2 separate regions of the Homo sapiens genome follow, and region 2 is linked to region 1. The links are contacts of gene promoters, found by promoter capture Hi-C in blood cells and fetal thymus (Javierre and others, 2016). All regions are on one chromosome and are shown on one strand. Each heading gives the region's core, a stretch centred on a gene start or on the middle of the fragment in contact. The rest is flanking DNA. Distances are from core to core; before and after follow the strand shown.

What was found. The method cuts DNA at HindIII sites, captures the fragments that hold promoters and counts their contacts. A CHiCAGO score of 5 or more calls a contact.
Region 2: a fragment that was not itself captured here is called in contact with the fragment with the promoter of GAPT in region 1 in 2 of 17 cell types (neutrophils and M1 macrophages); the score reaches 5.8 in neutrophils.

Annotation. Positions count from the first base shown.
Region 1 is chr5:58,489,836-58,496,462 of GRCh38, forward strand. It overlaps GAPT (GRB2 binding adaptor protein, transmembrane), which reads left to right and starts at 1,600. Exons shown (of 3, transcript NM_001304431.2): 1 at 1,600-1,706; 2 at 3,876-4,003; 3 at 4,412-6,627. The coding sequence starts at 4,702. The coding sequence ends at 5,175. The HindIII fragment of the contact is 6,945 bases long and covers 1-6,280 here.
Region 2 is chr5:58,754,590-58,760,880 of GRCh38, forward strand. The region is part of intron 3 of RAB3C (RAB3C, member RAS oncogene family); the gene reads left to right. Among named protein-coding and RNA genes, the nearest start is that of RAB3C, 170 kb to the left of the region's middle. The HindIII fragment of the contact is 6,251 bases long and covers 707-6,291 here.

The DNA.
Region 1 (6,627 bases), core at 350-2,849:
TTTATACAAACATTGTATAAATTGCCTTTCTTACAGATGTATGCCTAGGCAGGTGAGTGTGTATATTATTTGGAGGGGTGGCTAATACTGAAGTTAAATATAGTGGTGAGAATGTGGAGCACATCAAGTTCATAGCTTCACAACTTCATAACCTCCTTCACTGTAAGATTTTTGTCCAGGACACCCCTATTCTGCCTTAACACCTTATTCTATGAGGCTTAGCTCAGGTCTTGCCTTCCCTGACCACCCTCTGAGCTGGATGCCTCTTTCCTTTACCTCCACTGTCCCTGTCCATAATCCTGTCTTTCTTAGGCATTATCACTTTGATCTGAAATGTTCTGTGGGCGCAGCAGCCTCTCTACTTGGCTTTAAGTGCTGCAGGGAGCTTATTCACTCTTGCATCCTCATCTCTTAGCACAATGCCTGGCATAATGTCAGTGCTCAGCAAGTGTTAATAATACGTCCTGTCCTTCCAATGTCCAGTAGTTATTTCAGTAACTAAATCCTCTTTTTTAAAACCACCTTATGCAAAGTTAATCCTCTGTGGTTCAAAAAGTTCCAAGACAACTTAAAAGACAAATTTTCCATTACTTTGTCATCTCATCTGTCGAATTCATCTGTAATTTGTCTAATTCAGCATCTCCCACTGTGTGTGTTCCCATGAGTTGGACTCCAAGAGATGCTCTTGGTAAGCGTATCTATGTGGGAAACATGTTACTCAATCTAGCAAGGCAGCCAGTGCAGTGGTTTAGCACACAGGTGCTGGGGGCAAACTGCAGGCTCTGTCGGGCAAGTGATCATTCTGTGTGCTTCTGTTTCCTCTTCTGTAAAATAGGACTAATAACAGTTTTTCTCCCTCACAGGGTTGTTGCCAAGATTTGCTGAGTATTACACAAAAGGTTTGGAGTACTTAGTGCTAGGAACATACTGACTACTATTATTAAGCAAAGTTAAACAATTTCTTTTTCTTATTTGGTTTTATTTTGTTTGCTGGCTGTAAGACTGCTGAGAGCCTTTAGCATGCTGATGTACCCATGAATCTCCAGGGAAGCAGTATTCCCCACATTTACTTGATGGAAGAGCTGCTAGCATATCTCAGGGGTAATGGGCCTCAAAACATACCTTAGGAAATTCCTATTTATAAATTTAAAAGAACGTTAACATTTTCCAAACCCAAATTGGGACACTGATTTGACCTGTATGGCTATAACTTGGGAGCATTGGTACATAATATTAATATTTGAAGAGAGGACTGGTCTAGCAACACAAGTAAATAATAATAATAATAATAAAAGCCCAAGACCTATGTGTTACTACAATTAAAATATTTCTTTTTTTAAAAAATCAAAGTACAAGTGAAGTGACTTTTATTGATATTAAAGTGGGAACTGCAAATATGGCCCAAATAAAAAACCATGTAGGCTTTACGTATTATTTTCTGACACAGTTAAAAAACTATTACTTGACAAAGATGAAGGGCCAGACTTCCTTATTCAAAACCTCACGCCATTTATCTTAATTCTGCTGCATCTGATACTGACTTCCTCTAGAGCCAGGAAACTTTGCAAGTATTAAATAGCGTGAACGAAGGAGGGAAAGAAGGAAGTAACCCACCAAAGTGAAAAAGAGGAACAAGTTCTAACCCAATGCAGGTTTAAAACATAACCAAAAGAACAAAAGAGAGAGCTTGACACACCAATCTTGAGGTAAGTAAGAACCTGATTTAAGGTATTTGGATGATTAAACACTATAAGAAACAAGTTTGTCTTTAATTAATCAATGATTTTTATCTTACTACAGTTTTTAGAAAAAAATGCCTTACGTAGCTGTAAGGGGGAAACCCAATTTACAAACTGAGAGTGATGTTAATGTTTCTTTACAATATGATTATGCTTTGCTGTTACCTTGTTTCCAAACAGCAGGGCATTCTCTTACTTGAAAATTCCTGAAGTTTCTCAACAATTTGCGATTTTAAGAAAAATGTCAAATTGTTAGGTAACCTGTTGGAACTGCTTTCCAAAATGAAAACAGAGTCTTCTTTCAAACTGGTCAAAGTGAACATTATTTAAGTGTTAAACTATATTTGAATGGTTATTGTTTAAAATATGTTTTTCATTATAGTAGGTCTTTGTTCATGTCTCACAGGTTTTTTCCTCTAATGTTATTTCGAAGAAAATGATGCATTTCTTTTTCTGTAAAAAGTCTTCTTGTCTTTATCTTGGTAAATATCTCTTAGACAAACAATTTTAATATTTTGGATGTACCAGAATTTCTACTCTACATAGAATAACATAGATGGTAAAAATGCCTTTTCTTCTTAAAAATTAAGAGAGTAATTTATTGCCTTATCCTCAGCTACAGAAGTGACAATAGTTAGCCTTCCTCAACCCTCACCGTGACTTCTGTTGCAGGCCTAGTATCTTTCAAAAAGTTGATTAATTTCAATCAATACTTAAAGTGTATTTTGTAAATTTATTTCAAATATTCTGGCAAATAACTTCTTAAATCATTAACCATGTATACCATAAAATATCTTGCAGATAATTGGTGCTCATCTGTTTCAGACAGGAAATGAGGTCCTAATGATTAAAGTCATTTGGCTAAACTTTTGTCCTTGAACACAAGCACGGCTGGCCTTATAAAGGAGGGACCCTGCAGATTGTAAATCTTATGTGGCGGACCATACAGTTCTCAACCTCAATATTACTCCCAAAAATTCCAAGGAGATTAAAATGTTTCTGCATCTGGGGTGCTTGTCCCTGTATTTTTATCAAAAAATTGTATAAATTAGCTGCACATCTTATTTAATTTTCTTTTATGAAATGTCAAATTAAATATTTGCATATTAATATATTCTAACCTTGGACAAATTTATGAACGTTCATTACCATTAAACTTTTCATGAAAACTCACTGAAAGCAGAGCACCACTTTGTGAATTTCTATTTTTCTTCTCATTGTTACTATTATTATCCCATAAGGAGATTACTTCATTCATTAACAAATGTCTAATAGATTAGTCATTCTGTGTCTAATGCTGGTGTTGGTAATACAAAGGTAAATAATATATGATTTCCAACCTTCGAGAACCTCAGAGCTAATCAAGCTATACAAATTTTCTGACTGATGCACTTAGTAGCATGTTACAGATATTTGGATAAATAATATTTTGGGGAAATTTTTACCTGAATTCTCATTCAGTCACATTTTGGTTGTAAGGAAGTTACTTAACTTCTTTAAGCCTCTCTTCTTATCTATAAAATGGTGATATGAATAGTACCCACTACATATAGCAGCTATAGGATTAAATGAGATAATCCCTGTAACAGTTTTTAAAAGCTGAAACTCTTAACTAAACATTATTGATGATAATAACATTCCATAGATGATAATAATCATTTCACAGGCACTGTTGGATCTATGTCTATGTCTAGACTGAAAATATACAGTAATAATGTTTTGTTGATAAAATCACAATGGAACATGCAGCCCAGTTGAACACTTCCCCTTCTTGTCTCCTTGCCATTTTAAAGCATCAACAGAAAACAATGTAAAATCATCTTGCATGGAAGTTATTTTCTGAAAGCTATGAGAAAACCTGTGATACTAAGGATTTTGAAAATACATTGGTTTACTTTAAAGATCTCATTTCATGTTTTAAGTATAAACTACACCCTTGAGTTTTAAACTATCATCTTAAGCAATTAGATGCTGACATTTGCAGTCATTTTTAAATGCATTATTTCATTCAATAAATATTGATTGGATGCATTTTCTGTGCTAGGTGTTGTGCCATTCTCTGGGAACATACAGATGAAATGACCTGAACCCTGCCCACCATTTAACCAAGTAAGAATACAATTCTCTCTCATTTAGGTTATCACGCTATAATAGAGAATGGACTCATTAATATGGGATTACAGAGGAAGGAATGGTTAAGAAAAAGACATGGCCTCTGACTGCTCCAAAAAAGGATAAGCAGGGCTTCACAGAAGAGGTGACAGGTAATAAAGATGATTGCACGTGTCTGTATATGTCCCTTTTTTTCTATTGTGCTCAGAACATTATCTTTCACTCAAAAATTGTTATCCTAATTGTCAAAAACTATGTGGAGATCTAAGTGATAAAACCACTCAGGGTTGGGCAGGGACAGGATTTTTCTAACTCTTTTTCCTTTCATCACAACGGGTAGTATATTTTATATTAAAAGCAGAAGCTCACTATATGCTGGTGTTTAATGCATTGGTGAAAATCAGTAATTTTTCTATGTTAGATAATAAGTATGCAATTAACATATTTTTAATTTATAGCAGGTTTCTGGATGGCAGATCATTCAACCTTCTTTTTCTTGAGTTTTCTACTCTGCTGTCATCTTCCACTCATTTCTGCTTCATTTTGTGATTCGTTAACAGAAAAGGAAGTGGAATGGAATAAAATCCCCCAATACAGTACAATTATACATTAATGGCTGTAATGTGAAGAGCATCACACACGAAGAGAGCCATCTTCCAGAAATAAGTTTATACACTCTCTCCTCTAATTGCATCAGGACTTTACCAGATAATGTTCTTCCAGATCTGAAAAGGAAAATGCCTAAAAGAGCTTCCAAACTCATTTTTGAATAATACTAGGCTACAAAGAATTACACTGTGAATTCATTAAGGGTAACACCAAATCACTAAACAGCACTGTTTGTACAGAAATGTCGAAAAGCTGTGGAAATAATTTAGCGGCCATTTCTGTAGGAATTTCGCTTCTTTTACTCTTAGTGGTTTGTGGAATTGGGTGTGTTTGGCACTGGAAACACCGTGTTGCCACACGATTTACCTTACCGAGGTTTTTACAAAGGAGAAGCAGCAGGAGAAAAGTCTGTACTAAAACATTCTTGGGCCCCCGCATCATTGGCTTAAGGCATGAAATCTCAGTTGAAACCCAAGACCACAAATCTGCTGTCAGGGGAAATAACACACACGACAACTATGAAAATGTGGAAGCAGGTCCTCCCAAAGCTAAAGGAAAAACCGATAAGGAACTATATGAAAACACAGGGCAGTCTAATTTCGAGGAGCATATCTATGGAAATGAGACATCTTCTGACTATTATAACTTCCAGAAGCCTCGTCCTTCTGAAGTTCCTCAAGATGAAGATATATACATTCTTCCAGATTCATATTAGCTTTTCAAAATATTGACTTTTGTTATTGGATGATAAATATTCACTGTAATTTTTCAACAGCAAAGACAAGGAATCAAACTAAATGTTGATCAACTGTAGACTGGATAAAGAAAATGTGGTACACATACACCATAGAATATTATGCAGCCGTAAAAAAAGAACAAAACTAACATGGGAACAGAAAATCAAATACCACATATTCTCACTTAAAAGTGGGAGCTAAATAATAAGAACACATGGAGAGAAGGAGAGGAACAACAGACACTGGGGCCTACTTGAGGGAGGACAGTGGAAGGAGGGAGAGGTTCAGGGAAAAAAAAAATATCAGGTACTATGCTTAGTACACACATGATGAAATAATCTGTACACCAAACCCCCAAGTCACAAGTGTTCCTACATAACAAACCTGAACATGTACCCCTGAACATAAAATTATAATTAAAATATTAAAAATAATTCACTGTGATTTTTATTGTACTGATGCCATTCTTAATCAAGTTCTGATAAGTGGATGGTCTCTGCCTATCTCCACCTTTCTGAATCCTATGTGTATCGCTGTGGATTAATTCTAGATATCTTCTCCACCCTCCTTGCACCAGACTAAATCTGTATTATGTGATATTGATTCTTCCTTCTAAATATTACCCGTTATCTCTTTCCTTTATTTCTACCATTATCTTTATCTGGCTCAGAATTATTGTCATAGGCTCCTAACTGTTCCTCCTGCTTCTAGTTTCTACCCACTCAATCAATTACCGATGGTGTTGCCAGATTTATCTTCAGAAAATATTCCTAACAGCCACATTATTTCTTTCACTTAAAATGTTTTAATGCCCCCTCTTTGCAAAAGACATAATACCCATAATTTGAACTCCAAAATTTATGGTTTTCCACAATTGGTTCCAATTCACTTTTCCAGTGACTTCTCTTACTATCTCTCATTTCTTTGCCTTCAGCAGAATCATCTTAAAACCTGCCAAACTTATCCTTCCTTCACAGCTTTGCTTTTCTGCCTCTTCTCTCAAGCCTGCTTCAGATCATAAGTTCTTCCACACATCTCCTGAATCACTCCAAACCCGCATTTACCTTTTTATTTTCTGATATAAGCTTTGATGCCTCTTCAATTCTTAGGACATTTAAACATATGAATGTTGCCACAGCATTTTATTACCTAGCTTCATATGAAAATGTCTTAAATTCCCACCTAAATGAAAAGAAACTGCCCAAATGCCTAGAACATCACATAAGGCACTAAATGCCTCATGTTTTACTGACGGGAATTGAATTGTACATTTTGCTGAGTAGTTTTGAGAAAAAAATCTAATAAATTCATCTGTTATTCATCCATACAAGGAATATTTGTTGTGTCTTCTATCTACTTGCTATTGTGCTGTGCACCTGAGGGACATGGGTTGGTGGAGGGGTTACAAAATTAAAAAGAGAGACATGGAT
Region 2 (6,291 bases), core at 2,582-5,081, 270 kb after region 1:
CCCAGTTACCCAGTTACCGCAGACCAAGTATAGACAGGACAAAAACTCATACAACTATACCAGCCACAAAGAACCACAGCACCAAAGAGGAACCACAAACAAATGTTTATATCGTGCGCAATCTCTTCATACTTTATGCTTTCTTGAAATAAAGAAAACTGAGGCACAAAAAAGAGTAACAAATTGTATTTGCACACAGCATCCTATCTACCATTTATTAACTGCAAACGCCCTTGTGACCACCTCCACGGCTTCAGCATCGTCCAGAGAGCTACATCTAAATCTCCTTATTCTCCTTTTTTTTTTCTTCTGCACAAATCAATAAAGCCTTTTCTGTCAGCCCCAGGTAAATTCCAATTCCAAGCAACTTGGGCAAGGAAACAAACAAGTGAAAAAAAAAATCACATTGGCTTTAAGATGCTAAATTTAAGACATGCAGTTGGAGCTGACAGCTGACAGGTTATCAACCAGAAATCATTCTCTGATCACTTATTCAACAACTCCAAAAGAATTGCAGCCACATGAGGCTTGTAACGAAGAGGGCTGTATTTCCAAGGAGGATAACAGAAGGGCACATGTGGAATGTGGATAATTTCCAGAAGATACTGAGAGACAGTGCTGGTTTCTGACTTCTTATTCTAGGGCAATGCCTTTTGATGTCCTGATTCAATGCCGTTGTAAGCCTGAACTAATCTGATGTAATAAAAGCTTAATTGTCTACTTGCAATTATCATTTCCCTTTAATCTGGTGATCTGTTTTTATTTGACATAGATTGCTGTTCTTTAGAGTGGGATACACTTTGTGTAATGTGTATTGTGAAATGGTGTTCATATTTTGGGTACCATTATAAACTGTAAGTCACGCCTGATAATCTCATGTCTGAATACTGAAGTGAGTGTACCTCCATAGGCTACTGCAAGAGAGTACTAGGGGCTAGACAAGACTACACATCAGGACTCGGGGCAGGCAGGACCAGGCAAGGGTGGCTGATGGCATCTGCAAGACTGCAGCACTGGAGGAGGGGAATGGCTGCTGCCAGGGCTTGTACTGCGGAAAGAAACCTGTTTCTCCTTAATGATGGTGTTGTCCAGGCAGGGGCAGGTCAGAGTCTCTCTCATTCTAAAAATGCCCACTGGGCAGCATTTTGGATCCCAAAGAACTGGTAAGTGTGGGGACTGCTGAGTACTAGGCAATAGTTTGCAAACTTTTACATTATCACTGACTTTATTCTACTCTCACCTTTGAATTTAAACCAATTTTTAAGTATGCAAAAGAAGACAGTTTAAAAAAATTTCCATGCAAATTAACATCACATTCTTAAACAGATGAAATATTAAAACTCATACAAGTATTTTTAATGAAATAATTTTTATTTGCTGTGATTATACATATTGACATTTGCACACTTTTTAAAACTTTTTATTTGGAAAAAATTTAAATTTTATAGATAAGTTGCAAATATAAAAAGAGTGTAAAGAATACCCATACACCCTTTTCCCAGAAAGACTTATTGTTAGCATTTCACACAATTGGCTTTTTGGTTTATTTCTTTCCCCACCCACCTCACCCCATGGTTCTCTCTCTCCATACATGTTACATACACATAATTATATACTTAATTTTTTTCTTAATAAATTGAAGGTGTCACATACATGATGGCCCTTTACGCCAAACATCAGTGCATATTTCCTAAGAATGTAGATATTCTCTTACTTAGCCCCAGTAGTTATATATATATATATATAACATATATATGTTATATATATATATAACATATATATATAACTACTATATAACATATATATATATATATATGTATGTTAATTTTACTTTAAGTTCTGGGGTACATGTGCAGAACGTGCAGGTTTGTTGCATAGCTATACGTGTGCCATGATGGTTTGCTCCACCTATTAACCCATCAACTAAGTTCCCTCCCCTGGCCCCCCACCCCCCAACAGGCACTGGTGTGTTGTTCCCCTCCCTGTGTCCATGTGTTCTCATTGTTCAACTCCCACTTATGAGTGAGAACATCATATTTTGGGTACCATTATAAACTGTAAGTCACGCCTGATAATCTCATGTCTGAATACCCAAATATGTGATGTTTGGTTTTCTGTTCCTGTGTTAGCTTGCTGAGGATGATGGCTTCCAGCTTCTCCATGTTCCTGCAAAGGACATGATCTCATTCCTTTTTATGGCTGCACAGTATTCCATGGTGTATATTTGCAACATTTTCTTTATCCAGTTTATCATTGATGGGCATTTGGGTTGGCTCCATGTCTTTGCTATTGTAAATAGTCCTGCAATAAACATATGTGTGCATGTGTCTTTATAGTAGAGTGATTTGTAATCCTTTGGGTATATACCCAGTAATGGGATTGCTGGGTCAGATGGTATTTCTGATTCTAGATCCTTGAGGAATCACCACACTGTCTTCAGCAATGGTTGAACTAATTTACACTCCCACCAACAGTGTAAAAGTGTTCCTGTTTCTCCACCACCTCACCAGCATCTATTGTTTCTTGACTTTTTAATAATCGCCATTCTGACTGGCATGAAATGGTATCTCATTGTGGTTTTGATTTGCATTTCTCCAACTTCAATATATTTAACATTGATAGAATACTTTTTTCTTATCTACCTTTCATACATCAGTATTGTCATTTGATCCAGTAATGTTCTTTATAGCATTTTCCTCTGTGGTACAGGATCCAGTCTGTCATCAGGTATAGCATTTAAGTGCCATGTCTCTTTACCCACTTTCAATAGGGAATACTTCTACAACCTTTCTTTTTATTTTCTGACATTGACTTTTTTTTCTGACATTGACATTTTGGAAGAATGGATTACTGCCACACCCGCCCCCAACTTTTTTTTAATGAAACATTTCCCGTTTGGGGTTTTTTAGATAGCCTTTCGTGATCACTTTCAAGTTATGCATTCTTCTTTGGAATGTTGCATAGGAGATGTTGTGTCCTTCTCAGGCTATCACATCTGAAAGCACATCACGTCCATCTGTCCTTCATTGGTGATGTTAACTTTAATCAGCCATACAAGTGTTTTCTGATTTCCCTACTAGGTAATTATTGTATAATTTTTTTCCCCTGCAACTAATAAATAGTCTGAAAGAGACAGTTTAAAACATGCTAGTATCTAGTTTCTCATCAAGATTTCCCTCTAGATTTAGCATCCATTGATGAATCTTGCCTGATCTGATCTTTAATAAAACAGTTGCAATATTATGATGTTCCAGTGTCAGCACTCTCTTCACATCTGCCATCAGCTCTCAGAATTCTACTTCAAGCAAAAGCTCCCCTACTTATTTGTTTTTGTTGTTGTTGTTGTTTTGTTTTGTTTTGTTTTGTTTTTGAGACGGAGTCTCGCTCTGTCGCCCAGGCTGGAGTGCAGTGGTGCGATCTCAGCTCACTGCAAGCTCCACCTCCCGGGTTCACGCCATTCTCCTGCCTCAGCCTCCCAAGTAGCTGGGACTACAGGTGCCCACCACCACGCCCGGCTAATTTTTTGTATTTTTTTTAGTAGAGATGGGGTTTCACTGTGTTAGTCAGGATGGTCTTGATCTCCTGACCTTGTGATCCGCCTGCCTCAGCCTCCCGAAGTGCTGGGATTACAGACGTGAGCCACGGTGCCCGGCCTTTATTTGTTTATTATTGATATAGACCTATAAATTTTTTCCAATAGTTTATAATTGGAAATAAAATTTTAATTAAATGGTTTATTTACTCATTTATTTAGTGAATATTTATTGAATACTTACAATATGCCACATACTCTATTCTGGTGATACAACTGTGGGCAAAACAGATGTAACCTGTTTTTCCTCATATATATAGACATATTGTTTATGTGTTATGTACAGAGATTTGAGGACTAGAGTCTAAAAGAATATTTTTTAATACGCATGTTAAACCCTTAATTCATTTCTTCAATAGATCTGTCAAACACTGGTGTGTTGAGAACCGTTCTGGAAACTGAGAGCACAAACAGGGTCCCTATCCTTAGGGAATTTGCAATCAAATGGGGAAGATAATAAAGAAATAAATACACTATCAGAAGAATTGCAGGTTTTGAAAGGTGTTTTAAAAGGAAAAAAGTAAACATAAACACCAGAGCTAAGATAAAGGATGACGACCAAAGTAACATAGAGGCCAGTGATTACTAAAGTAAAATGAAATCTGGAAGGATCACTTCATCGTGATCTCTCATGAATGTTTGAGTGGTGCTTCACTGGGTAAATGTTCCTTGGACTTTTTTTTTTTTGGATACTTTTCCATGGTCCTTGACCAGTTGGTTTCCAGCAGCCTCATAACTAGGCACATGTCTGCTGTTGCCACCTGCATGGATCCAGCCTTTAGATTTGACATTTCCAAACCAGTGACCACCTATCAGTAACTTCTGCACCAGGATACAAATGATAACATAGCCAAATCAAACCGCTTTATACTAAATATTACCTCCCTCCAACATTCAACAAATATTTCATAAAAATGCACTGTGTCCCAGGACACTGGAATACCTGTCATTGGAATGTACATTTCAGTGAAGGATACAAACAAGTAATTAGGCAAGATACTGTAGTCAGTGTAATCACAGTGGTTAGTACAGGGTCCTGAGGGAGATTATAGAAGGAGTTTCTAACCCAGATGTGGTGGGGTTGGGGCAAGTGGACAGAAAGCCTTTCTGGAGTTGCAGCTGATACTTAAAGAGAAATGTAAGTTAGCCAGAGACCCCAAGCTGTTCCCTGCATCCAGGTGCATGCAATAGGTGCAACGTCACAAGGAAGTTAGGCACATATACCTGGATCCCCTAGTTCACCACTGTCTGCCTCCCCAGTGTCTGGCACATAATTTACACTCAGTGAATATTTTGGAACAAGTGAGTAGGTACATGCCAAAGAGACATTTTGTCCTCGGAAGAGAAGATAACCATGATAAAATTTAATATCAAATTCTTTATAACATGTAATGTATGAGATTATTTCTGTCCTATCAAGTTTGCATTCATACTGTAGCTTTAATTACATATTAGAAAGGAGGATGGAGTGGTTTTCGAATCTGCTAGTATTAAAACATTTTTGCTGATGCCTTTAACTAGATGAGTTGTAAAGCACATTATTTATACCTGGAAGAACTGGCTTCTCTTACCCATTTAATTTTTCCAATTAACTGAAAGCCAGGTTGACTTGGCTTTGGTTCACTCTGTGGTCAAAATTTAGCATCATGGGTATTGATTAATTAGTGATGAGTCATTTGGCCTATAAGAGCATAAACTACCTGATGGCAAATTTACAGGACGAAAATTAGGCCACAGAGTAAGTGTTGTTCTTCGTTACTAAAAATGAAACTAAAAATGTCACTGCCGAAGTGGAACTAACAGGAGCAACAGAGAGAATCAAGCCAAGTGTTCTTTCCTTCCTCTCCTGTCTCCCTGACCTAGATAAGAAACCTTACCCAATCCTAACTCCTAGTTCCGTCCACCCTTATTTGAGACCCTCCCACTAAGGGACCATTGCCATTCACTAGATCATGATGGGTATGACCCAGTGAATGGCAACATAATGCATAGGATAAATGTGCAATGGATTTTTTTTTTGTCCATCAGATTTGGGTGTTTGTTTGTATGAAAAATTTAGCCTCTTACTTGTTGTCTACCATGACCATATAGAAAAGTCATGAAAGTTTTGGAATATGAGCTCCCGGATGGAATGTGAGAATATGAGTTCTGAAGTTAGATGCCTGCATTCATTTCCCAACACCACTACTTAATGATTTGGATGCATCAGATTCTTCACTGTAAAATGGGAAGTTTAAAAGTGCCTACACCATAGGATTGTTGTGAGAATTAAGCAAGCCCATCTATGTAAAGGACTTAGCATGGCGGCTCACTGTAAGCCTCATTTAGGCATCATGATGCTCAAAAAAGGGATCACCAAAACACTTAACTGAATATCACCCCAAAATCAAGTGCCAATTCATGTAAGCAGTTGGTATTAAACAACTAGTCTGTTCTTTCTTCTTGTCTGATGTTTAGGACCTAGAATATCTTATATGATCAGCTAATGTACTCTGATAAAAATGAAAAATACTGATTATTGAGAAAGTGTTTTTGAGAGCCCATGATGGTCAGATCTCTGTGCTAAATGCTATGGTGCACTTGAAAACAACTTCATTTCTGCCTCCAAGGAACTTACAGTCTAGTTAATGGAGACATGTCAGGAACACGTGTGTCTAAAAACATCAGTCATCAGTACAGGAGGTCAAATGATTAGCACT